Regions from separate parts of the Homo sapiens genome. Here regions 2, 3, 4, 5, 6 and 7 are each linked to region 1. Evidence: promoter capture Hi-C in 16 types of primary human blood cells and fetal thymus (Javierre and others, 2016). All regions are on one chromosome and are shown on one strand. Each heading gives the region's core, a stretch centred on a gene start or on the middle of the fragment in contact. The rest is flanking DNA. Distances are from core to core; before and after follow the strand shown. Region 1 holds the start of KRTAP4-4 (keratin associated protein 4-4). Region 2 has its middle 10 kb from the start of KRT14. Region 3 has its middle 7.8 kb from the start of LINC00974. Region 4 holds the start of KRT13 (keratin 13). Region 5 overlaps KRT12 (keratin 12). Region 6 has its middle 13 kb from the start of KRT38. Region 7 overlaps LOC105371777 (a long non-coding RNA gene).

Region 1 (3,396 bases), core at 569-3,068:
TAGTTAACAATGATCTATTAAACATTCCAAAGTAGCTACAAAAGAATAATTCAGATGTTCCTAGCATAAAGAAAAGATAAACTGTGATGGATAATCCAATTACCCTGATTGGATCTTTACAAATTATATGGATGTATCAAAATTTTATATGCGCATCTGCTACATATCAATAAAAAAGGAAAAATGTTTTGAAGGGCACTAATACTGAGGTTAGGAACACTGGTGTCTTAGATTGGGTCCCCACTGGAGCCGACCCAGGAGTATATTTGGGAGGTGGTCCCAAGAAGTGCTGTATGGAACACGAAAAATGCTCCAGGAAAGGGAGGGAAGTGAATACAAGATGAGTTAATGATCAGAATAGCCCTGTAGGTAGCTGGAATTTGGTGTCTCTGAGGACCACTGACATGCTGGTACAACATGCTCCCAACTGGAGGAGAAATAACTAAAGCATGTGTTCACCAACTCTCACTCATTTGTTGAATACTATTCCAAGAGGCTTTAACTCTACAGTCCAGAGCTTGCTCCTTGGCTAGAGAAACTCTTCAAGAAGAGAGTTCCAGGTGCTTGCTCTAAGAAACCACCATTGTATATTAGAATAAAGTGTGCTGAGGAAATAGAGGTGGTGCCCCTGAAATTACATTCTGCAGAGAAGAACAACAGAAAAATTGACTGGTAATTGACCACACTCAAAAAAGAAAAATAATGAGACACAGTATCTGTATATTTCTATGCCTGAAAATTTATTTAAGATTTATTTAGATAAATATTTGTTTAAAATGGAATAGCTCCATATGAGAAATTATGGCAGAGAGCAAATATTTCAATTAAGATAGTTGACAGATTTCAGAGCAAATTACAACTTATGTTCATTTGGTAGAGAGGTAAAATGTGGGGGGAGCATATATTTGGAGGCCAGATTCAATCTAAGAATTGGTTGGAACTGAAGTTTTCCAACTAGCTTCCCATAACTCAGCTCATAGATGAGCTACATCAAGAATGCTGGTTGATGAGAATCTGGTGAGTCCAGATGACAGCCTCAGCAGCAAGAAGCACTAGAGCAGGTTGGGCGGCAGCACATGGTCTGGCAGCAGTTGGGGCGGCAGCAACTGGAGATGCAGCAGGAGAGCCTGCAGCAGCTGAAGCCACAGCAGGAGGAGCTACTGCTGCTAGAGATACTGCAGGAAGGCTGGCAGCAGCTGGAAATGCAATAGCTGGGGTGGCAGCAGGTGGTCCTGTAGCAGGTGGTTTGCCAGCAGATGGGCTAGCAGCATAGAGACTGGCCACAATGGGGCCTGTAGCACCTGGACACACAGCAGCTGGGGCGGCAGCAGGTGGTTCTGCAGCAGGTGGTCTGGCAGCACTGGGGTCTGCAGCAGCTGGACACACAGTAGCTGGGGCAGCAGCAGGTGGGCTGGCAGCACACAGACTGGCAGCACTGGGGCCTGCAGCAGCTGGGGCGGCAGCAGGTGGTCCTACAGCAGGTAGTCTGGCAGCATTGGGGTCTGCAGCAGGTGGGCTGGCAGCACACAGACTGGCAGCACTGGGGTCTGCAGCAGCTGGACACACAGCAGCTGGGGTGGCAGCAGGTGGTCCTGCAGCAGGTGGTCTGGCAGCACTGGGGTCTGCAGCAGCTGGACACACAGCAGCTGGGGCGGCAGCAGGTGGTCCTGCAGCAGGTGGTCTGGCAGTAGCTGGGACGGCAGCAGTTCTCTAGGCCACAGCCCTGGTCAGAGCACACAGAGCCACAACAGGAGTTGACCATGGTGTCAGAGGGTGGAGGTTCTGGGTGGGTTTCCAGGAAGGAGGGTTTGGAAGGCTTGGAAGTCTCCTTGCCCCAGATCCTCTTTTATACCCTGCTCAGGGCTGATGTCATCGGATGCAGCACTCTTTCCTTGTCATTGTTTGTTCTGATGAGCAGGCAATTATCAAATTAGGCAAGTTTGTTTTTCTGCTTAAATTTGTCAACATGGAGAAAAGCATTATTTCCTTCCCCTGGTGTGTTAGGATTCTTCAGGTCAGCTCTTCTTGAACAACCTCTTGTGTGCCTCTTGCTGCAGCTTCCTCCTTGAGCTGCCATGTGACATCTGCCTGCAGGTACCATGTGCTGCAGCCTCATTTTCCTTAATACATTATGTCTGACCTTGGGTGATTTTAATTCTTCTAGGCCCGTAATTTTCTTTTGGTGACTCAGGAGGAGAAAGCTGTGCTTTAATCTCATGGCATGTTTGTTATAGATCAAGTGAGCAATGAAGGTTTGAATGTGAAACAGGTGACCAGTGGCATGAAAACAAATACTATTAGGATATATTCCTTGCCACCTTCCATACAATGAATCATGACCCATTTTCTAGATGTTCTACTGGGGAAAGCAGAATTGTTTTAAGGTGGACATCTAAGTCATGAATTATCGATGCTTCTTTTTCTTGAGAAACAACACTCCAAAACTCAGTTTCAGGGCCTTTAGGGGAAATTGGCTACAGAGATCAGCTATACTAAAAGGTTCAGGTCCCTCCGCTCTCTGCTCTGAGGGGCTGATTTTCCTTCTGACTTTTCCTTCCTGTCTCTCTGGCTTTAACAATCACATTGAGTCATCTCCTCTATTTCTAAGGTTTACTTGCCAACCTAAGGTAAAGGACCCAGTGTCCTTGCTATATATATATAATATATATATATATATATAATATATATTATATATATACATATATATACTATATATAGTATACACACACACGTATATACACACTATATATAAATATACACACTATATATAAATATGCACACTATATATAAATATACACACATACACACACATATATGTGTGTGTATGTATGTGTGTGTATGTGTGCGTGTGTGTGTGTATATATATATATATATATATATATACACACACACACGCACACATACACACACATTATGTCTGACCTTGGGTGATTTTAATTCTTCTAGGCCCATAATTTTCTTTTGATGTATATGTATATATATATATACACTCACACACACACAGGTTTGGGGGAATATATATATTCTGCCAAAGGACCTTAGGAATATATATATATATTATACATATATAGATGGGTAGATAGAGAACCTTATATATAGGTAATATAGGAATATATATATTTACATATTTATGAATATATAATATATATTCTTCATATATGTTTGTATTTAATAGTATGTATAAATATATATATAATATATACAATAACATATTTAGAAATATATATATTTATATATATATGTATTTACCTTTATCTCCTAAGGCCCTTTACCTTAGGAATATTATGCACACACACACACACACACACTCAAACACACACACACACACACTCCCCCAAACCTGGATGTTAAAGAAACCCAAGGAAGAAGGCAGAAACTTCCTGTCTTTGTGCCACC
Region 2 (3,396 bases), core at 337-2,836, 440 kb after region 1:
CACCCTGGTCTCCATGCAGAACATACTTTGCCGTGGTGTGGGGGACCAGTAGGGAGAATTTGCCATATCCAGGTAAGGGATGTTGTTGGCTCAGACCTCTCCTCTCCCAGGAAGCCCCACCCCATCAGCTCAGGTCACCTGGCTTTCTCCCCATCTCTCAGACCTCCCACTGCCTCTGTGATCTGTGCCCCCACCCTTGATTATACCTCCCCATAGTGCCTTAGGGGGCCACAAAGTGTTTTTCACATAGTCAGTCCTCAGTGTTACTCTGGTCTGATGCAGGAGACACAACCCTTGCCCGTGGGCTGTCCAGTCTGATGGAGGAGGGTTGCAGAGCCCAGAGTTTTCCCTGTGCCATAGGCTGAGGGGAGCCAGGAGCACAGGAGCCACAAGGTGGGGTGGATTAGCACACAGAAGTTTTCTTGGAAAGGGTGCGCTTTGACTCAGGTTTTGAAAGAAGGAAGAACCCTGGAGGGTGGAGTGGGGAGAGGGCGTGGCTGTGGGAACTCCAGCACAGTGGTGAGTTGCGGGGAGAGTCAGCACCTGGGAGTCGGAATGTCTGTGTCAGGAGTCCTGAGCTCTGGTCGGCAGGACAGAGGGAAAGGGAAAGAGGAAGGGAAGGGGTCGCCGAGTAGTTCTAGCCTCATGGATAGAAAGAGTCATTTCCCACAGTCAGAGATGTGGGAACAGATTCAGCATCTTGCACCCCACCTCCCTCCCCCAGACGGGATACCGCATGGGATCAAGGAAGGAGCAGGGCCTCCCGATCAGAAAGACCAGCTTTCAAGTCTTGGCTCCATCACTGACGAGCCATGTGACCTTGGACAGGCCATTGCAGCCGTCCAAGCTTTGGTTTTCCATCAAATAGGAATAGAACCAGTTCAGCCTGGCAGGATTATTGAGAGGAGTGGGTAAGTCAGCGCAGGTGGCCAGCATGGTACTGGGCACAGAGGAAGTGTTTGGTAAAAGTTCACTTAAATTAAGCCCAAGTTAGACCAAAGGGAGTGGGGGATGCAAATGGAGAACAGGTGTCAAGGTTCAGCCAAAGACCTTGAGGCAGAGAACAGAGAAGAGTCCAGGATGTTACTGGAGCTCCTGTTGCAGGAGCTGGGAGCTGCTGAGGTCAGCCGGCCAGGTGATGGGCTGGTGAGTCTGCAAGGGCCTGGCCAGGGTGGAGGCTGTGGGAATAGGGCAGGCCTGGAAACTGATGAGGAAGAGTCAGCGGATGGTTTAGGTGTGAGGGGAGAAGGCCTGGGAGCTTCCAGCAGGGCCCACATTCTGTGGCTGGAATGAGGGGATGGGGAAGCAGCCTCTCAGGTTTCAATGAGGCCATCCTGGTTGTCAGTGCAATATTTGCAAAAAAATGACCATTTCTGTCTCCCAGTTCCAAAAGAGGGCATGGATGGCTTATGATAAAAGACATATTTATAATAAAACTAAAAATATCCAGCAAGGATAGAAGAAAAATAAATCAAGAATTAGGTAACAGGATATATTGATGGGCACATTTTGGTTGCAAGCAACGGAAACTCAGCTTGAATTAGCTTCTAAAAGAGGCAATTCAGGGCTGGGCATGGTGGCTCACACCTGTAATTCCAGCGCTTTGGGAGGCTGAGATAGGAGGATCACTTGAGCCCAGGAGTTCAAGACAAGCCTGGGCAACATAGTGAGATACCATCTCTACAAAAATAAATAAATAAAATAATTAGCCAGGCATGGAGGCATACACCAGTAGTCCCAGCAACTCAGAAGACTGAGGTGGAAGGATTGCTTAAGCCCCAGCAGGTCAAGGCTGCAGTGAGCCATGACCACAGCACTGCACTCCAGCCTGGGTGGCAAAGTGAGACTCCATCTTAAAAAAAAAAAAAAAAAGACAATCAATAAAACAATAAATCAAGCCCCAATTTATAACATTTATTTTTTTCGTGTTGTAAATACCCCCACTGTGGCCAATTTCAAGCAACCAACAGGGAGTCACTTAACACAGGGTTGGGAAGAGACGTGCAGTAGCTCACTGCCTTATAGCATGTCCACCATATGGATAAAATGGTCATAAGTACCTCAAGAGCACAGATATTAGTACAATGTAGTAAAATAATTTGGAAGGAATGAGTTTTCAGTATGCATTACCTTTGTTCTCAATATAATTCATTTAATTTTAAGTTCGTATAATTTAATTTTTGATGAGGGCCATATTTAACAATCACCTTGCAAAATTCCTGAAATTTTAATGTCCAGCTCTCAAGAGCCAGCATGAGCCAGCTCCAGCGTGCCAATGAGCCTCGAGGTTTAGGCCATAAGCAAGAGACTAGGAGGGACAAAGGGAAAGCTTCTGGATAAAACAAAGTGAAAGAGGGAAAACCAGATTGGGGGAGGATATTGGTGAGGGAAGGGGAAGAAGAGTTGGTGGGCCCCCACGGTCAGGGAGACAGCCTAGGTGGACAGGAGCAGAGGCAGCATCCAGAGGCTGTGCAGCCTTCACAAGGCAGACCAGGCACTGTCTGCCTCCCAGGGAGCCACATGGGAGCCCCATGGGGGTATCCAAGTCTGTGCTGCCTCGTTATCTCAATTATCTCATCAGTGTTCTGTTGGTTGTTCTCTCTGTCAGCATCTAGCGAGGACTGTTCTACTGCAGCACTCAGTGTGCATCTGTCCTTTGACTGTCCCAGCTTGAGTGATGTCTGTGTGTCCCAAGACTTTGGTTACTCCCCATCTAACTTAACCCATATGAGCAACACCCCCTTCAAAGAACTGGAGGAGTGATTGGGGGAAAGGAAATGATGGTGCTGGGGGTGTTGGAGGTACTGGAGGTAGTGGTGGTGGTGGTGGTGGTGGTGGTGATGGAGATGGAGATGGTGGTAATGATGGTGGTGATTGTGGTGGTCATGGTGGTGATGGTGGTAGTGGTAATGGTGGTGATGATGTGGTGGTGGTAGTGGGGGTGGGGGTGGTGATGGTGGTAATGATGGCAGTGATTATGGTGGTGATGGCAGTGATGGTGGTAGTGGTGATGGTGGTGGTGATGGTGGTGGTGGTGGTAGTGGTGGTGGGGGTGGTGATTTCAGTGGTGGTGGTGGTGGTGGTAGTGGTGGTGGGGGTGGTGATTTCAGTGGTGGTGGTGGTGGTGGTGCAGGGGCGAGTGGTGATGGTGGGGGTGATGGTGGTGGGGCGTATTGGTGTGGTGCTGGTGATTGTGGTGGTGATGGTAGGGATGGTGGTAGTGGTGATGGTAGTGATGGTGGTGGTGGGGCTGTGGGGGTGGTGATGGTGGGGATGATGGTGGTGGGGGTATTGGTGTGGTGCTGGTGATTGTGGTGGTGATGGTAAGGATAGTGGTAGTGATAATGTTGGTGATGGTGGTGGGGAGGTGGTGATTTCGGTGGTGGGGGTGTTGGT
Region 3 (3,396 bases), core at 290-2,789, 400 kb after region 1:
GCAGAGGCAACAACTCCTTTGGCAGATCCACTCTGCTTTGTCATTTGGAGGGTTCTGGAAAAATCACCCTAGATTCTGTTTCTCCAGCCCTCCTAATGATTCTCTAAGGTATCTAGAGCTCTTGAAAATCCCTTACTTGTTAAAATAGGCAAAGTAGTTTCTGGTAGTTGCAATTGAGAATCTAACCAATATAGAGATCAGATGACAAATGGAGTTTTAGCCCAAGTTTGCTTCTCATGAGCCCAGTGGTATCCCAGACCAATCCTGTGGTTATTTCCCAGTGTCTGGAGTGGACTAGACATAGTCAGTAAAAGGATCCTGATCCTTACCAGTAAGGATTACGTGGTTTAGAAAAAGGACCAGCAACACTACATCTCTAAGGGAATGACAGAGATTAGTGCCACATGAAAGATTTGATGGGCCAGGAGTGGTGGCTCATGCCTGTAATCCCTGCACTTTGGAAGGGCAAGATGGGGAGAGAACACAGGAATGTAAGATCAGCCCTGGCAATAGAGTGAGATCCCTGTCTCTAGTTTAAAAAAAAAAAAAAAAAAAAAAAAAACCTCAAAAATTAGTCTGGCGTGGTGGCACACGCTTGTAGTCCCAGCTACTTGGGAGCCTGAGGTAGGAGGATTGCTTGAACCTGGGAGGTCAAGGCTTCAGTGAACTGTGATTGTACCACTGCCCACCGGCCTGGGCAACAGAGAGAGACCCTGTCTCAAAAAAAAAATGATAAATTTAGGGTTAACTTGCCTAGTTTTTCTGTGCAGAACATGAACAGATGTTAGAGAATAGCCATGAATTATTTTACAATTTATCACATGGTTGTTCCAACAGCAGTCGTTGATCCAGATTGTGTCCCTTTTCTAAAGCAGATCACCATTGACCCTGGCACCTGCTGTGGGAAATTCTTTTTTCTTTATCCCAATAAACAAAGAGTACCAGAATAAATATGCTTTCACCTGCAGAGAAAGCAACACGGTCATTCCCCTTATCCATGGTTTCGCTTTCCACAGCTTCAGTTACCTGTGGTCAACTGTCATCCAAAAATATTAAATGGAAAATTCCAGAAATAAACAATTTGTCAGTTTTGAAGTGTGCTGCCCTGAAGAGCATGATGAAATCTCACACTGCCCCACTCTGTCCAGCCCAGGACAGGAATCATCCCTTTGTCCAGCTCTCCATGCTCTATGCACCACCCACCCACTAGTCGTCGCTTAGTAGCTGTCTCAGTTGTCAGATCAACTGTTGCAGTATTGCCGTGCTTGTGTTCCCTTATTTTACTTAATTACGACCCCAAAGTGCAAGAGCAGTGATGCTGATAATTCAGATTTGCCAAAGGGAAGCCACAAAGTGCTTTTTTTTTTTTCTTAAAAGGAGTTTTGCTCTTGTTTCCCAGGCTGGAGCACAATGGCGTGATCTCGGTTTACCTCAACCTCTGCCTCCCGGGTTCAAGCGATTCTCCTGCCTCAGCCTCCCAAGTACCTGAGATTACAGGCATGCGCCACCATGCCTGGCTAATTTTGTATTTTTGGAAGAGACAGTGTTTCTCCATACTGGTCAGGCTGGTCTCAAACTCCTGACCTCAGGTGATCCTCCAGCCTTGGCCTCCCAAAGTGCTGGGATCACAGGCATGAGCCACCGCGCCCAGCCAGCAAAATGCTTTCTTTAAGAGAAAAGATGACAGTTCAAAACTTACTACGGAAAGAAAAAAACCATACGCTGAGGTTGCTAAGATCTACAGTATGATAAGATATTTTGAAAGAGAGAGACCACATTCAAATAATTTTTATTACAGTATATTGTTATAACGATTCTATTTTATTAGTTATTGTTGTTAATCTCTTGGTCTGCCTAATTTATAAAGTAAACTGTATCTTAAGTATGAATGTGTAGGAAAAAGCATAGTGTAGATAGATTTAGGTGCTATCCACAGTTTTGGGCATCCAGTCAGGATCTTTGAATGTATTCCCTGTGAAATAATGAGCAACTACTGGGCATCTTTTCCAGGATGTGCAGAGAATCAAACTTGGAGGGTATGCAAACAGAAAAATTCCCCAAATCACACTCAAGGATTGCTCTAGGAACACACCACTGCTGTCACTTCTGGCCACCAAAATTGAAGCTCAAACTATGGATGATGGGCACTGCATGTCTTTGCCAGAGCCGCTGCTATTGCTTCCTCAAAAAATCACATATCTCTGCCCAACCTTGTTCCTGCCATAAAAAATTCCACTCAGCACCTCCTTTAAATCAAAATCAAAGTCCTTCACTCCAATGGGGTGCCATGGTTAAAAAAAAAAAAAAAACGTCTTGTGCGGGCGCACCTGAGTGGCAGGGCTGTCAGGGGCCCATGCCCTAGATGCAGGTGAGCTCGGAAAAGCAAGTTTCTGACCTCTCCCTTGGGGAGCTTCACACTTAAGGTGGAGAATTTCCCAAATTGAGGTAGAGAAAAGATACATAAAATGGGCCAGGCCTTGTGGCTCACACCTGTAATCCCAGCACTTTGGGAGGCCGAGGCAAGTGGATCACCTGAGATCAAGAGTTCAAGACCAGTCTGGCCAACATGGTGAAACCCCCGTCTTTACTAAAAATACAAAAATTAGCTCAGCGTGGTGGCAGGTGCCTGTAGTTCCAGCTACTCAGGAGACTGAGGCAGAAAATCGCTTGAACCCGGGAGGTAGAGGTTGGATTGAGCTGAGATCGTGCCACTGCATTTCAGCCTGGACGACAGAGTGAGACTCCGTCTCAAAAAATAATAATAATAATAAATAAAATAAATAAAAAGATATGTAAAATGGTAGATGAGGAAGACAGCAGGTAGCAGAAAAAGAACCAGAGAAGAGTAAACAGTTGCATATTAACAGCGGAGCGCTAGAAAAGAGATCACAGACTCTCACTGCTCAGGTGTCTTGCTAGAGCCACCTTTGACCCAGAGACACTGATGACCTGCCTGCTCCCATATCCACAAATTCCAGGATCTTGAATCCCCCTGGGTTTCTGTGTCACTTCATTCCCTAAGTGTACTCTTACATAACCCCTCTGCCAGTGATTTGAGCCAGCCTGTGGCAATTTGTGTTTTCCAAAAATGACCACATCAATATATCCCATTGCATATGCTGTTCTTCAACGTGACATGGACACACCTCCATCTAGAGACGGGGTCTGTATTTGCTTTCTATTTCTGCTTAACAAATTACTGCAAACTCAGCAGCTTAAAATAGCACCCATGTATTAGCTGACAGTTCCACAGGCGTAATTGGATTCTCTCTGCAGGATATCACAAGGGTGAAATCAAGATGTCAGCCAGGCTAAGCTCTCATCTGAATTCTCATCTGGGGGTAATCTGCTTCCAAATTCTTCTTTGATCTTGGAAAACTTCAGGTCTTTGCAGCT
Region 4 (3,396 bases), core at 568-3,067, 340 kb after region 1:
CGGTTCCTCTCTGCCATGGCCTCGTACTGCTCCCTCATCTCTGCCAGCACGCGGGTCAGGTCAATGCCTGGGGTGGCATCCATCTCCACGTTGACCTGGCCGACCACCTGGTTGCTAAATTCCTTCATCTCCTGTGGGGATGGGAAAGGAAGATGTGTGAGGCTACTCATCCTCCCTCTCCTTGGCTCTGAGTGCTGGCAGAGTGTTCTGGAGAGTGTTTCCAGGTCCCACAGTGGAGGACTGTGTCCAGTTGCAGGGGAGGGCTCCTCCTTCTCACTGGAGGTTGTTGAGCCCAGGGCAGCCTGCAATTCCCGCTCACCTCTTCATGGTTCTTCTTCATGTAGGCTAGCTCTTCATTCAGGCTCTCGATCTGCATCTCCAGGTCAGTCTTAGACAGAGTGAGCTCATCCAGCACCCGGCGCAGGCCGTTGATGTCGGCCTCCACGCTCTGGCGCAGGGCCAGCTCATTCTCATACCTAAAATAGTAAAAAAATGAAATGTTTTTTGAAAAAGCAAGACATAAATGATATGAGACATTCTCCCTACCCCTGCACGAGACTCCAGTACTTCCAGACCTTCACTCCTGGGATGCTCCAGTGTCATTGGTCAGATGAGCTTTTGTCTAAACTAAGAGACTCCTGGGAAAGGAGAGGGAGGGGGAAAAAAAAAACTCACTTGAGCCTGAAGTCGTCCGCAGCCAGCCTGGCATTGTCAATCTCCAGGATGACCCGGTTGTTTTCAATGGTGGCGGTCAGGATCTACAAAATGCAGAAGAAGGTAACCTCTAGGGCATGGGTGTCCAGTCTGTTGGCTTCCCTGGGCCACATTGGAAGAAGAATTGTCTTGGGCAACACATCAAATACGCTAACACTAACGATAGCTGATGGGCTAAAAAGAAATTGGCAAAAATAAAAAATAAAAAAAAACTCAATGTTTTAAGAAAGCTTACAAATTTGTGTTAGGCCTCAATCAAAGCTGTCCTGGGCCACATGCAGCCCACCGGCCACAGGTTAGACAAGCTTGCTCTGGGGGGTCCACGTGCTTGAGGAGGTGGCCTGGGAAAACATGGGCAGGACCTGGTTCCCATGGGGCTCTACCTCTAAACTGTCCTGTGAGCTGGGACAAGGCATTTCCCTCTGGGCCTCCATTGCTCTTCTGTAAAGTGAGGAGTGGGGCTGCATCCCCTCCAATCGTTTCTAACACTTTAATATTCCATGTCTGAGCACCCTGGGGGAGATGCAGGGAGTGCATTTCTGAGGAACGACCTGCTGAGAACATCTTTGGTTCGTCATGTCTTGGCAGCCTCAGACTAGCACCCTCCCTAGGCCACTGTCTTGAGATCCATCCCCTGAAAGTCAGGAGGGACTCGGCTTGGTGCCACATATCTCACAATCACTTTGCTAGAGCTGACTTCCCAGCTGAGTGGAGGGGAAATCCAACAAATATTCCCATCCCTTTGAATTTCTTGTCTAAACGTTTATATTCCAAAGCAGTGAAAGCCTGCTCCACATGGCTGAGACTCAGCCCAGGCTGGTAGATTTCTGCTCCAACAGGCTGGTATCACAGCACAACAGACAGGGCTCAACAAAGGGCACCCAGGCTCGGCACTGCCTAAGCCTCTGCCTCTCTCTCCCCCAACTTGGCCATCGCCAGTTGAGAATACCAGTTTGAATGGGTCCCCTACAAAGTAAACAATTATTCCCAGGGCAATGAATGAACACGTCTCTCTTTCTCTGTTGATTTCATGCATTCTTAATGGCTTTTAAACCTGTCATGTTTCCAGATAACTCAGTAGGTTAGGATTATAGAGATCGAGTCATGAATAACATAACTGTCTGGAAAGCAGTAAAAAAACTGACCTGAGTAATAACAATCATAAAAATGAATAATGAGAGAAAATGCATTTGGGGAGTTGTGGCATGAGAAAGCCCATCAGAGGTAGAGACTCTTGGTAGTCAAACAGTAGGCTTTTCCCCTGCAAGAAGTTTGTGAATTCCGTCCACACCTAGTCCCCCACAACACTGTGTTTCTTGGCCTTGGAGGCTCTGCCCTTCATGGAGGACCCCTCCTCAGCTTCCAAGGGCTCACCTTGTCCCGGAGCTCTTCAATGGTCTTGTAGTAGGGGCTGTAGTCCCGCTCAGGGCTAGCTGGGCTCTGCTTCAGGTGCCAGTCACGGATCTTCACCTCCAGGTCAGCGTTGGCCTCCTCCAGGGCGCGCACCTTCTCCAGGTAGGAAGCCAGGCGGTCGTTGAGGTTCTGCATGGTGATCTTCTCATTGCCAGTGAGGAGGCCGCCATCACAAGCACCAAAGTCAACAAAGCCACCAGCAAAACCCCCACCAAAGCCACCTCCAAGGCCACCTCCATAGCCACCTCCAAGGCCACCTCCATAGCCACCTCCAAAGCCACTACCAGCCCCTCCACCAAAACCACAGCTCACGCCGCCTCCATAGCCCCCAGCTGATCCCCCGGACACAAACCGAGTTGAACAGGTAGAGACACCACGGCCTCCTCCCAGCTGGCAAGAGCCACCCCCGAAACCACCTCCATAGCTGGCAGAGGAGCTCTGCAGGCGGAGGCTCATGGTGAGAGCAGGATTGAGAGCAGGTGCAGATAGAAGCTTGCTTGGCCTGGGCCGAGGACTGTGGCTCTTCCCCAGAGTGGACACCTTTTATACACCTCCATAGGGGCTGGTTATCTTCTCTCCTCCCTTCCCCACCCTCTGACTTGGTGCCAACTACACTTCTGTTTCCCACAAGCTTAGTTATCTCTGATCTCTCCAGGGTGGGTTGTGCCTTTTGGGGGTGGCTTTTTTTTTAATCCTTAACAAAAAGAATGATTCAGAGGGGACAGCATTCTGCCTGAGACTGCCCTTTTGACAAGTGAATTCTGTTTCACCTCCACTTAAGGAGTTCACTGTGCAGGCTCTGAGCCCCACCCAGTATTAGAACGGGACCTGAGATGCGGAGGCCTGCCAGGAGCTTCTGCGAGGAAAGTGGTGGGTGCAGAGTGGCTCTGTGCTTTGCAAGGTCACCGTAGCCCTCGACCTTCCTTTTTTCTATACCTAAAACTTCTGACTGGGATGTCCTGGATCCTTCTTAGCACTTCATCTACTCCAGGGGCCCCAGCAACTCTGATGACAAACTTTGCTTGGTTCGATAGAATCACCTGCCTTGAAAGTATTTAGACTGAGAAAGAAATAGCTCCGAGGCCATCAGAAAAAGTCACAGTGACAGAGACCTTAAGGGATCTTAGGGACCATCAGACACAGCTGTGGAAACTCAGGCATGGAAAGAGGAAGTGGCCCTGTCCATTATCATAGCGAATATTCTCCGAGCCCTCACCATAGGCAGGAACTGGGTGAAGTTACTTTACACTCATCATCTCATTTAACCTT
Region 5 (3,396 bases), core at 784-3,283, 300 kb before region 1:
ATCAAGGCATACATTTCACATTATTACCATTCATCTTTTATTACAATTAACTCTATTAAAACAATACTACTTGATTAAAGCTCTATGATTAAAAAATATTCCGGGTTACCAGAAGAAAGTTCGTTAAAAGACTACTCCAGGTCCAGAAGGATATAAGGTAATTTTGATTTGTTACAAAGACCAACATGACCAAAATGACTTGTGACTGAATATTGTTTCAGAAGGGCAAAAAGGATTCAATGTGAATAGGGAATCCAAAGAAAATGGAACAGACAAAAATAGGGATTGAAGTAATACAGCATGTTACTCTGAAAGGAATAATTTCTACTTGTAAATTTCTTGTTCCTAAGGAACCAATCATGGGGCAGATCTTGTGAAATTTTACATTAGTTCTTCAATTTCCTGAACTTGAGATGAGACCACCTCACCATTCACCATCTCCTGCACAACTGTCTTGATTTTTCGGGTTTTGGTTGGGTCTAAAGATAAAAATGGAATAAGGGGGCAAGAGTTAGTGTTTCAAATATTAATCCAACACTGGTTGTTTAATGTAGGCTTCTAAATTAAGCATTGGTTGATACAATCCATCTAATTAAACTTTCAAAAGTAAATTTTACTTCTCAAAAATGTGTTTTAGCCAATGACAATGAAATGTATTCAGTGTTGCCTTGTACATATATGAAAACTTTTTTTAAGAAAACATTTCAAAGGTGGTTATGGTGATCATAATACCTTGCAGCAGAGTAGGTTTTTTCCCTTCTGCTTTGCCATTTTTTTTATTTTTTAATTTTAATTTTAATTTTCTTAAAGACAGGGTCTGGCTCTGTTGCCCAGGTAGGAATGCAGTGGCATGATCATAGCTCACTATAACCTCTAACTCCCGGGCTCAAGCGGTCCTCCTGCCTCAGCCTCCAGAGTAGCCGAGATCACAGGTATACACCACCACACCCAGCTATTTTTTTTCTTAAGTTTTTTGTAGAGATGGGGTCTCGCTATTTGCCCAGGTGGGTCACGAACTCCTGGCCTCAAGCGATCCTCCCACCTCAGGTTCCCGAAGCTATGAGGTTACAGGCATGAGCCACCATGCCCAGGCCCCCAAAAGTTTTAATATGGTATAGACTACTCATTTTGTGCAGGAATGCATAAATGTTTTTCCTTGGCTCAGAATATAAATATGCTTTAAATTAAAATTAATAATAATGCAGTAGTCAATGAGGTCTTACAGGTTTTGCATTAATAAATGTGATTCCGACTTATTCTAAGTGATTCTAGGGTTTCTGCATACCTTTAGAGGAATCAGTTGACTGTGCTTGTGATTTGGAGTCTGTCACAAATAAACTTTCCTCCAAACCATCACTGTAAGAAAACAAAGGAGATGACCTCAAAAAGTGAAACAACCTGGCTTTTAATGGAAGATCTGGTCTGAGAAATTAGATTTCCCAATTTGTAGGCCTGAGTTCTTCCAACTAGTGCAGACTCTGATCACTTTTGGAAAGCTTGTTAGAGTAGGTGGTTCAGGTGGCTACTATGTGTCCTTCTTATCATCAGGTCTTTGATATCAGAAATTGAGTAAGTGACTTTTATAGTACAGGGAGTACTCATTTACAAACTGTTTCTGACCGTGGTGCCTTTGTTCTTTGCAGCATTTTATGAATTATCAAGTAAGATAATGGGTGAAAACACTTTGCAAAGTGTAGAGCATTTAGTAAATCCCAGGCATATCTTTACTAGACTTGTGTTTGTTTGTTTGCTTTTCTGTCAACTAAAACCCCATTCCTTCTATTTCTGCTGCCCACTCTTGGTCAGCCCCTGAAGGTGTTTACAGCCTCCGTTGTCTGCTCACCCTTGGGCCTCCCCGTCCAGCAGGCGGCGGTAGGTCTCAATCTCCAGCTCCAGGCGGGCCTTGACATTCAGCAGCCGCTGGTGGTCCACGTTCTGGCGCTCTGCGTCCGCGCGCACCTGGAGCAGCTGTGCCTCCAGGTTGCTGATGAGCTGCTGCACCTGGGACAGCTGCGCGCAGTAATCGCCCTCGGCTTCGGCCAAGGAGTCCTCCAGGGATTTCTTCTGCACGTGGGAGGGAAATGGCATAGAAATAACGATGGAGGGGACCGAAAAGAGGAGGGTAGCCAACGGCTAATGTAATTTGGATGCAGCATTTTCTTTGGAAGTCCAAAGGATGCTACGTCTGTTTGCGCACGAGCCTACCATGGCGAGCTGGGACTGTAGCTCGATCTCCAGGTTCTGAAAGGCGCGACGCAGGTCGGTGACCTCGCTCTTGCTGGACTGAAGCTGCTCGGTGTTGGTGCTAATCTCCTTACGGAGCTCCCCGCTCTGCAACAGCAAAGACAGCCAGGGGGCTCGAGCGCTGAGCTCGTTCGCAGGCCTTTCTGTGAATGTATCAAAGCCTTTGTTGTTTGTGTTACCTTTTCAATGAACCAGGCTTCAGCGTCCTTCCGATTCTGCTCAGCGATGGTTTCATACTGCGCCCGCATATCATTGAGGAGCCTGGTGAGGTCCACTCCGGGGGCAGCGTCCATTTCTACGCTGACCTCGCCTGGGCCGCCCACCCGGAAGCTTTGGAGCTCCTGGGGACAGCATGTGAGAGAGAGGGGCACAGGGGTCCATTGTGACTTTCGTGGGCCCTGGATACTTTTGTCCTCTTGGGCCCCTTCCTACACACACACACACACACACACACACACACACACACACTTAAAAATTCTATCTTATGACTGTTGGTATAAAGACAAATATATTAATGTAATACATTAAAACTTTTTTAACCTCAAAATTCATATTTTTCTTCTGATATTACAAGAACTTAAGACATATTCATGGGTCCCTGAAATTACCACAGACCCTGGGAGCAGTGCCTGCTGTGCCTAATGGGTAAGTTGGCTCTGCTTCTTGAGGGACCACGACCTTCACGTGAAAGGAGGCCTGGCGTACACTCACTGGGGTTTTCACCTACAGCTGCCAAACCGAGGGCTGCAGACAGTACCTGGGCTTGCACGCTGTTTGTGCCACAATCATCGAAAATCTAGTAGAAACTTCCTATTGCCAGCATCCCTTCCCTACCTAGCCTCCAATATGCACCATGGCACCTCAGAGTTTTCTGGTGTGCATTATGCTAAGTATAACCAGTTTCTCTGACATATAAAACATTATATATTATTGGTAGACTTTTGTTTTAACTTTTAAAATACTCAGTCTTTTTAAAATCACTGAATTAGGACTGTTAGCATTCCTATTGTCATTGCCTTATAATGAAAATGACAAAATCAGAAAGTGCCTCAAATTTGTTGAGCCTTAGCAGGAACCACCATCACTACTACCAACACACACACATCACACACACACATACCACACACATCACACAGAAATCTAAAACAAATG
Region 6 (3,396 bases), core at 375-2,874, 290 kb after region 1:
TCAATCTTAATCAAACACATCTTAAATTACCCCTAAAATTCTTTGGGACTGAATCTTTTTATTAATACTTCTTAGGTTGGTGGAAACATTTCCTTGGAGGGATTCTTTTCAAAGGCTGCCCCTCCTTTGCTTCCTCCACAGAGACCTGTACCTGACACGAAAGAGATGGACAGAGTACCAGGGAGCAGCAGTTCCCAGCTCCTGTCAGACTCTCTCTGTCCTAAAGTTGTCACAGCTATTTTCACATTGTCCACCTGGACAGCCAACCAAGCATTCCCTACCCTCCTGGGTGAGATCTGAGAATGAGAAACACCATGCTTCACAAGGATGCTCTCCATGGAATTCTCCCCAGGCCCTAAAATGAATGAAAAAAAATGTGATCTGAGCCACATGGGGACGTTTCCATCTTTCCTTATGGTGGATTTTTAAGCATCAAGTATCCAAGGGTTTGCTCCCATCTGTAACGAAACTAGCTGCGCTCTGGGATACAGATGGGGTTTCACTTCTCACTCTACTGTGGGCTCCATTGGTCAGGTCTGGGCAGCAGTGAGGGGGTTGAAGGGATAGCCCCTTGGACTGAAACCCAGCTCTGCACAGCCAAGACATGCTTCTGGTTCACTCACCCTCCCTTTTTCTCCTCATCCACTTCCTCAAAGGCACCAACACAGTGGTTAAGTGGACCTGTGTCACGCAGCTTGGCAGTTTACCAGCTCTGAGACTTTAGGCATAGCTTCTAACCCCCTGAAGCTTAAAATCTTCCCATCTGTAAAATGGAAAACGTGATTCTATCTGCTTCATCAAATCCTTGTAAGGATTAAATGCAACCAAGCATATATGTTTAGCAAAGCTTCTGACATCTAGTGAGCTCTTAATAAAGGTGCTCTATTCTTTTTAGATAAAATAGAAATAATAATATCCACCTTAGAGGATTGCTGAAATGGTTCAAAGAAAAAAGGTATGTGAAAATTCCCAGTTCAGGTTTGACATTTAGTAGAATCAAGGATGATTTCAGAAATATTATAACCACTGTTGGCAGCAATCTAAAAGGAGATGTGGAAACGGCCACAGAGACAGACTGCTACATCCCAGCTGAATATCAGCACTTAATGGAAAATACTAAATAAATGTGATTAATTTTTTAAAAATGAAGTTAGGTTGTTCATCCTTTCCACCATCTTGTACAGAACAGGAACTCCAAAACAAATAGAAAGATGAGAATGCCACAAGAGACGTTCAGATATGCGGCTGTGGGTTATTCCATGGAAGGCAAAATCCATCCCAGGGGGATTAGCTTCTAGAGAGGATTCCAGGAGGTGGGGAATATCACCTGGGTTTTGAAGCCCAACTAGAATTTGGCCATGCAAAGATGAGAAAGAAAGCACTACACATGTGAACAAACATTTTGTGAGTGACAACGCAGTTTGACAGAAGCATAGGGCAAGTGACAAAGCAGTTTGATAGAAGCACAGGATGTTTGCAGAAGATTAGAAAGAGGTAAGCTACAAAAAAAAGTGAGGCTGAGAACATGGCAGCCTTGAATGCCAGGCTAAAGAGCTGAGGCTTCATTTTGTAGGCACTGTCTGCTCCCCAGCACCCAGCGATGCAATCACTCATTGCTGGTGCTCAATAACTAGTGAGTGAATGGTGGCATGTCCTTAAATAAGGCAGGATCTGGATTGTGAAGAAATAAATCCATATCCCACTCACAGTCCTCTCATTGCAGACATCAGCAATGATGCTTGTTGAATGGAACTGGTTGTAGAACCAAGTGGTTGGGCCCTTGACATCACAGTTTATTTCTGGCACCTTCAATCCATCTTTATGAACATTCATGGACTGTCATCCCCCCAGGCAACCCCTCCAATTCTCCCATCACCAATCCTCAGCCCTCTCTTTCCATGCCACTGACACCAGAGCTCAAGGCCTCATCTTACTTTTTGTTGGAGCTCCTTAATGGTCTCAAAGTGTGAGCAGTAATTGGAGCATATGTCAGGGCACTGCCGTTTGCTCCACTGCTGGCTCTCAGCACCACCCCTGCTTCTCATTCTCCTGCTCCAACTGCTGCAACTTCTGCAAGCAGTTGGCCAGGCACTCACTTAAGAACTGCATGATCCCTTTCCCACTGCTGCTGAGGATGTCTTCACTGAACCAGCCACAGGTGCCCATACTGGCAGGGATGTTCCTGGTCCCTGGCAGAGGACAGGCAGAGTGACTGCTGGCAGGGCCAGGCTGGACTGACTGTGAGCCACAGGTTCTAAGGAGATGGCTACTAGGTTGGTGACTCTCTTACAGGTGGGCCCCAGTCTTAATACTGGGATCTACAGACATTGGGTACAGAGTTTCTAGAGTGGTTTCTGGCCACAGCCTGTCTGGAGCAAGGAGGCTTCAAATGGCTCTTGCCAAAGCTTGAGGAGCAGGGATTTCTGCTTTAACTAGAAGCCATGGTCCTAGACAGTTGAGTTGCAGATTGGTGACAAGGGCCAGGTGCTCAGGTGTGAGTGTTTCCTCACCCAGAGCTTTTATTCACCTGCCATAGGAGCAGATGTGATACACAAGCTTTCCCCCAATGAATCCTCATTTGTTCTGCCATCAGAACAACCCATCAGCAGTTATTCAGTCCTCAGAAGTAGCTCCCCACTTTATGAAAGAAAGGGCTGACTTTGGACTTCTTGTTACTGCCTTCTGTTGTGAAAAGAAATGTTAAATGTTTTCTCTTTAGAGATGCCCCATTGAAAAGTTAGACTTTGTTCCTTGAGTGACTATCTGGCCTCTCTCTAGGAATGGCATTGGCTCTAAGATGAATCGTCCTCTCCACTGACCTTCAATACCCAAAAAAGTAAAATTCTCTGATAAGAGCCTCAGGAATCCCTAAAGAGCAATAGAGCAAAGACTGCTAAGTTATTAGAACTAAAGAAAACTTCCAAGTACTAATTCAACCTTTCGTGCTTCAGAGACCAGAGAAGGACAGTGAGCTCCCCAGGGATGCCAAGCAAGTCAGATACAGAGCCAGGACTGGTCCCAGGGCCCCTAGCACATTCTGTTTCCTCTGCACCAAGATGGACAAGCTTTTTCTGTTAAAAAGACAGATGCTAAATATTTTAGGCTTTGCAAGTCGTATACTCTCTTTGTACTGCAACTACTTAGCTCTGCCATTGTAGCACAAAGCAGACATAGACAACAGGGAAATGAATGGGTGTGGCTATGCTCCAATAAAACTTGATTTACCAAAACAAGTAGCAGTGGGGTTTGACCTGTGAGCTGTAGTTGCCATCCCTGCTTCACACAGCACAGTGAATGAGGCTTAAAAATTGGACCCCTTAAGCATGTGGGAGACCTTCAGTCCGCTCTGGAGCCAGAGGGCTGGGCAGAGGGAGGGCACCTGGGAATGGATGGTGA
Region 7 (3,396 bases), core at 558-3,057, 270 kb before region 1:
CCTATTTATATCAAAGAGTTGAAAATCCCATTTTTAGTTATTTTCCATTTTATTTTTATTTTGAGACAGGGTCTCACTGTGTGACCCAGGCTGGAGTGCAGTGACACAATCACAGCTCACTGCAGCCTTGACCTCCCAGGCTCAAGTGATCCTCCTGCTTCAGCCTCTCAAGTAGCTGGGACTACAGGCACACACGCCATGCTTACATAATTTTTATTTATTTATTTTTGGTAGAAACAGGGTCCCACTATGTTGCCCAGGCTGGACTCAAACTCCTGAGCTCAAGTGATCCTCCCACCCCACCCTCCCAAAATGATGGGATTACAGGTGTGAGCCCCTGTGTCCAGCCGTTTTTTTTTTTTTTTTTTTTTTTTTTGAGACGGAGTCTTGCTCTGTCACCAGGCTGGAGTGCAGTGGCATGATCTCAGCTCACTGCAACCTCCCCCTCCCCGGTTCACACAATTCTCCTGCCTCAGCCTCCCTAGTAGCTGGGATTACAGGTGGGCACCACCACGCCGAGCTGATTTTTGTATTTTTAGTAGAGATGGGGTTTCACCACGTTGGCCAGCCTGATCTTGATCCCTTGACCTTGTGATCTGCCTGCCTCAGCCTCCCAAAGTGCTGGCATTACAGGCGTGAGCCACTGCACCCGGCCCAGCCAATTTTTTTCTTTTTTTTGAGAAATAACTTTGTCTATATCTTATTCCAGAAATCTTTGGCTAGTTTTGGTAAGTTTTTGAGGTTTTAAATTTAAACTAAAATATGATACAATAGTGTCATCATTATGAGGTATAGTCATTCAATCTACCAATTTGTTGGAGTAGAAAAAATTCTACTGGAAAGCCTCCCACCTGTTTATATAAGGGCAGGAGAATTTGCTGGCTTCTCTATATCACTGAGTTTTGTACTTTTGTAGATTATTCGATCTTATAATGTGACCACAGGAAATCAAGTGAGTTTTTCACAGCAATTCATTTTTCTGAGTTATATCTCGAGGACTGAGTAAAGATCCTATTGACCCTTGTTCATACACAAAGTCATGAATTTAGAGACCCTGGTATTTCAGGCTGTTGGGTGACTGCAGCTGTAAATAAATACTTATTAGATCCCAACTTCCTTGTAGCTAGTAGGAGATACATTTTGACTTCTGAGACACTCTACTGAGAGTGTTAATGATTAATATTAAGTATGGCCAGTAGTTGGGAAGGCTATTATAAGCACTACAGTTTTCAGAGGGCTTTCAACTTTTTTCTTTTTTTTTGTATTCTACCATGACCAAGCTATTGCAATCACATATGATAGACATAGAACCTGCAGTCTCTGGAGTGGCATCTTGTTCAGACAGGGAGAAGGAGGGTGGAAGTATGGATGAAGGAAGTTTTGCCCTGAGTTATTTGTTGAAGCGAGGAGATGGGTACAAGGAGGTTGATGTATAGTAAACTTACATCATTGTATTCTGCACAGTTAATCAGTCATATTTAGGTTTTTGTTTGTACTTATTTGGTAATTCTCAGCTGTGTTTTGATGAGTTGGATGGATTTATTTATTGTCTCATAGTGGCTATAGAATGATTGGATGAAGAATATAAATATAAATTGTTTTAGAAAATAAAACAAACTTAAAATTGGAGCAAGTACCAAGCAGATCTGAAATACAAACCAGAGGAAATAAATAATGCCGTTAAAATTACAAGTTCAGTGGATGGATCCAGGAACAGATTAAGCCAGGATTATTGAACAAAATGTAGCTCTGAGGAAAATTTCCAGAATGCAGCTAAGTGACGAAGGAGGAAGTCAAGAAGGCATGAAGGCTATAATTAGAAGGTCTAAATATGTCTAATCAGAGTTCCAGAAGAAGACACAAGAGAATAAGAAAACATTCAACAAAATAAAAAGTGAGAATTTTATAGAATTCTTTAAAAAAAACCCAAGTTCTCAGATTAAGGAGACCTAATGAATTCCAGGCAAAAGGAATAAAAATAAATCACTACACACATTGAGGCAGAAAACCAGATAATTACAAGCAGATAGAGAATAAATCACCAACAAAGGAATGGTGGTTAGACTGATGACTGACTCCTCAAAAGCAACAATGGACACTGGAAATGGAATAGAATCTTCAATGTGCTGGGAGGAAATAACTGCCATTCCGGAATTTTCTGACTCGGTAACATTATATTTGAAGAAGGGTAAAATAAAGCCATTTTCAACATTTAAAAAACTGAATTTGCCATCAACTTCTAAGTTTTCACTAAGAGCAATCTGAAAGAATGTGTTTTAAGCAGAAGGAAGATGATTCCAGATGAAAGTTCTGAGATGCATAAAAGAATTAAAATAATGAACAAATAGAGTGCTAAGCATGCGACCAAATGTAAATGTAAAGACAAGTATTGGCTATAAAATAATATATCTATTGAGAAGAAAAAACAATATGGAATTAAAGTAGATGAGGGCTGGAAGGGGATGAATGGAGTTAAATTGTTCTAAATTGCGGGACTGTTTAGGAAAACAGCAAACATACAGATTAACTTTAGATATTGACAGGTTAAGAATGCATATTATATTTTCCACACAGGGACACATGGCGGAGAACAACACACACTGGCACCTGTGGTTGGGGGGAAAGCATCAGGAAGAATAGCTAATGGACGCTAGGCTTAATACCTGGGTGTTGGGATGATCTGTGCAGTAAACCACCGTGGCACATGTTTACCTATGTAACAAAACTGCACATCCTGCACATTTACCCCTGAACTTAAAATAAAAGTTGAAGAAAAAAAAGAATGCATATTATGTTTTCTAATTTTATGGTTTTGCCTTTCACATGATGGCTCTTACAATGATCTGGAAATAAGCCAGTGAATTAGCACAAAGAGCTCAGAAACAGATCTGTTGCCTATAGAAACTAATTTTGTACGGCTTGGGCATTTCAAATCAATGAGGAAAGAAATGGAGTATCCCATATTTAACAAATGGCAGTTGTATTTCTGTCTAAGGCAAAATTTACCTAAAATATAAGAAAATGAATTCCAGATTCATTAAAGATAAAAATGTGAAAAGTTAAAAACTATACAACATTTAGAAGAAAACACAGAATAATATCTCTAGGAATTAGAGTAAAGGAGTATTTTTAAACAAGACACAAAAAGTGAAAACTGTGAAGTACAAAATTGATACTGATTTAGCAATTTTTATTCATTAAAATATACCATAATTATAATGAAAAAAGCCTCAAACAGGGAGCAGATATTTAGAAGTCATGTAACTGACAAGCAATTAGTTTCCAGAATATGGAAAATTCCTACAAATCAATAAGAAAAAGAAAAGCATCCCAGTGAGAAAGTGGGCAAAATATGAATAGATTTGCAGAGAAGAGGAAAGCTGAATGGCCCATTCC

The links. Contacts are between HindIII fragments. The CHiCAGO score rates a contact against its expected background, and 5 or more counts as called.
Region 2: a contact is called between a fragment that was not itself captured here and the fragment with the promoter of KRTAP4-4 in region 1, in 1 of 17 cell types (naive CD4 T cells). The highest score is 5.0, in naive CD4 T cells.
Region 3: a fragment that was not itself captured here is called in contact with the fragment with the promoter of KRTAP4-4 in region 1 in 1 of 17 cell types (naive CD4 T cells); the score reaches 5.5 in naive CD4 T cells.
Region 4: a contact is called between a fragment that was not itself captured here and the fragment with the promoter of KRTAP4-4 in region 1, in 2 of 17 cell types (naive CD4 T cells and non-activated CD4 T cells). The highest score is 5.3, in naive CD4 T cells.
Region 5: a fragment that was not itself captured here is called in contact with the fragment with the promoter of KRTAP4-4 in region 1 in 1 of 17 cell types (monocytes); the score reaches 5.1 in monocytes.
Region 6: a fragment that was not itself captured here is called in contact with the fragment with the promoter of KRTAP4-4 in region 1 in 1 of 17 cell types (naive CD4 T cells); the score reaches 6.2 in naive CD4 T cells.
Region 7: a fragment that was not itself captured here is called in contact with the fragment with the promoter of KRTAP4-4 in region 1 in 1 of 17 cell types (neutrophils); the score reaches 5.6 in neutrophils.

Annotation. Positions count from the first base shown.
Region 1 is chr17:41,158,930-41,162,325 of GRCh38, forward strand. KRTAP4-4 (keratin associated protein 4-4) reads right to left here and starts at 1,819. Exons shown (of 1, transcript NM_032524.2): 1 at 720-1,819. The coding sequence starts at 1,762. The coding sequence ends at 1,262. The HindIII fragment of the contact is 13,067 bases long and covers 1-3,396 here.
Region 2 is chr17:41,595,293-41,598,688 of GRCh38, forward strand. No RefSeq gene overlaps it. Among named protein-coding and RNA genes, the nearest start is that of KRT14, 10 kb to the left of the region's middle. The HindIII fragment of the contact is 1,482 bases long and covers 846-2,327 here.
Region 3 is chr17:41,560,577-41,563,972 of GRCh38, forward strand. No RefSeq gene overlaps it. Among named protein-coding and RNA genes, the nearest start is that of LINC00974, 7.8 kb to the left of the region's middle. The HindIII fragment of the contact is 7,476 bases long and covers 1-3,396 here.
Region 4 is chr17:41,502,968-41,506,363 of GRCh38, forward strand. It overlaps KRT13 (keratin 13), which reads right to left and starts at 2,645. Exons shown (of 8, transcript NM_153490.3): 1 at 2,089-2,645; 2 at 676-758; 3 at 320-476; 4 at 1-131. The coding sequence starts at 2,583. The HindIII fragment of the contact is 1,600 bases long and covers 1,018-2,617 here.
Region 5 is chr17:40,861,280-40,864,675 of GRCh38, forward strand. KRT12 (keratin 12) reads right to left here. Exons shown (of 8, transcript NM_000223.4): 4 at 2,424-2,585; 5 at 2,206-2,331; 6 at 1,844-2,064; 7 at 1,286-1,356; 8 at 24-479. The coding sequence ends at 382. All of the region lies in intron 1 of LOC105371777 (a long non-coding RNA gene), which reads left to right. Among named protein-coding and RNA genes, the nearest start is that of KRT12, 4.2 kb to the right of the region's middle. The HindIII fragment of the contact is 1,078 bases long and covers 1,495-2,572 here.
Region 6 is chr17:41,451,833-41,455,228 of GRCh38, forward strand. No RefSeq gene overlaps it. Among named protein-coding and RNA genes, the nearest start is that of KRT38, 13 kb to the left of the region's middle. The HindIII fragment of the contact is 1,558 bases long and covers 846-2,403 here.
Region 7 is chr17:40,887,357-40,890,752 of GRCh38, forward strand. The region is part of intron 1 of LOC105371777 (a long non-coding RNA gene); the gene reads left to right. Among named protein-coding and RNA genes, the nearest start is that of KRT20, 3.8 kb to the left of the region's middle. The HindIII fragment of the contact is 6,046 bases long and covers 1-3,396 here.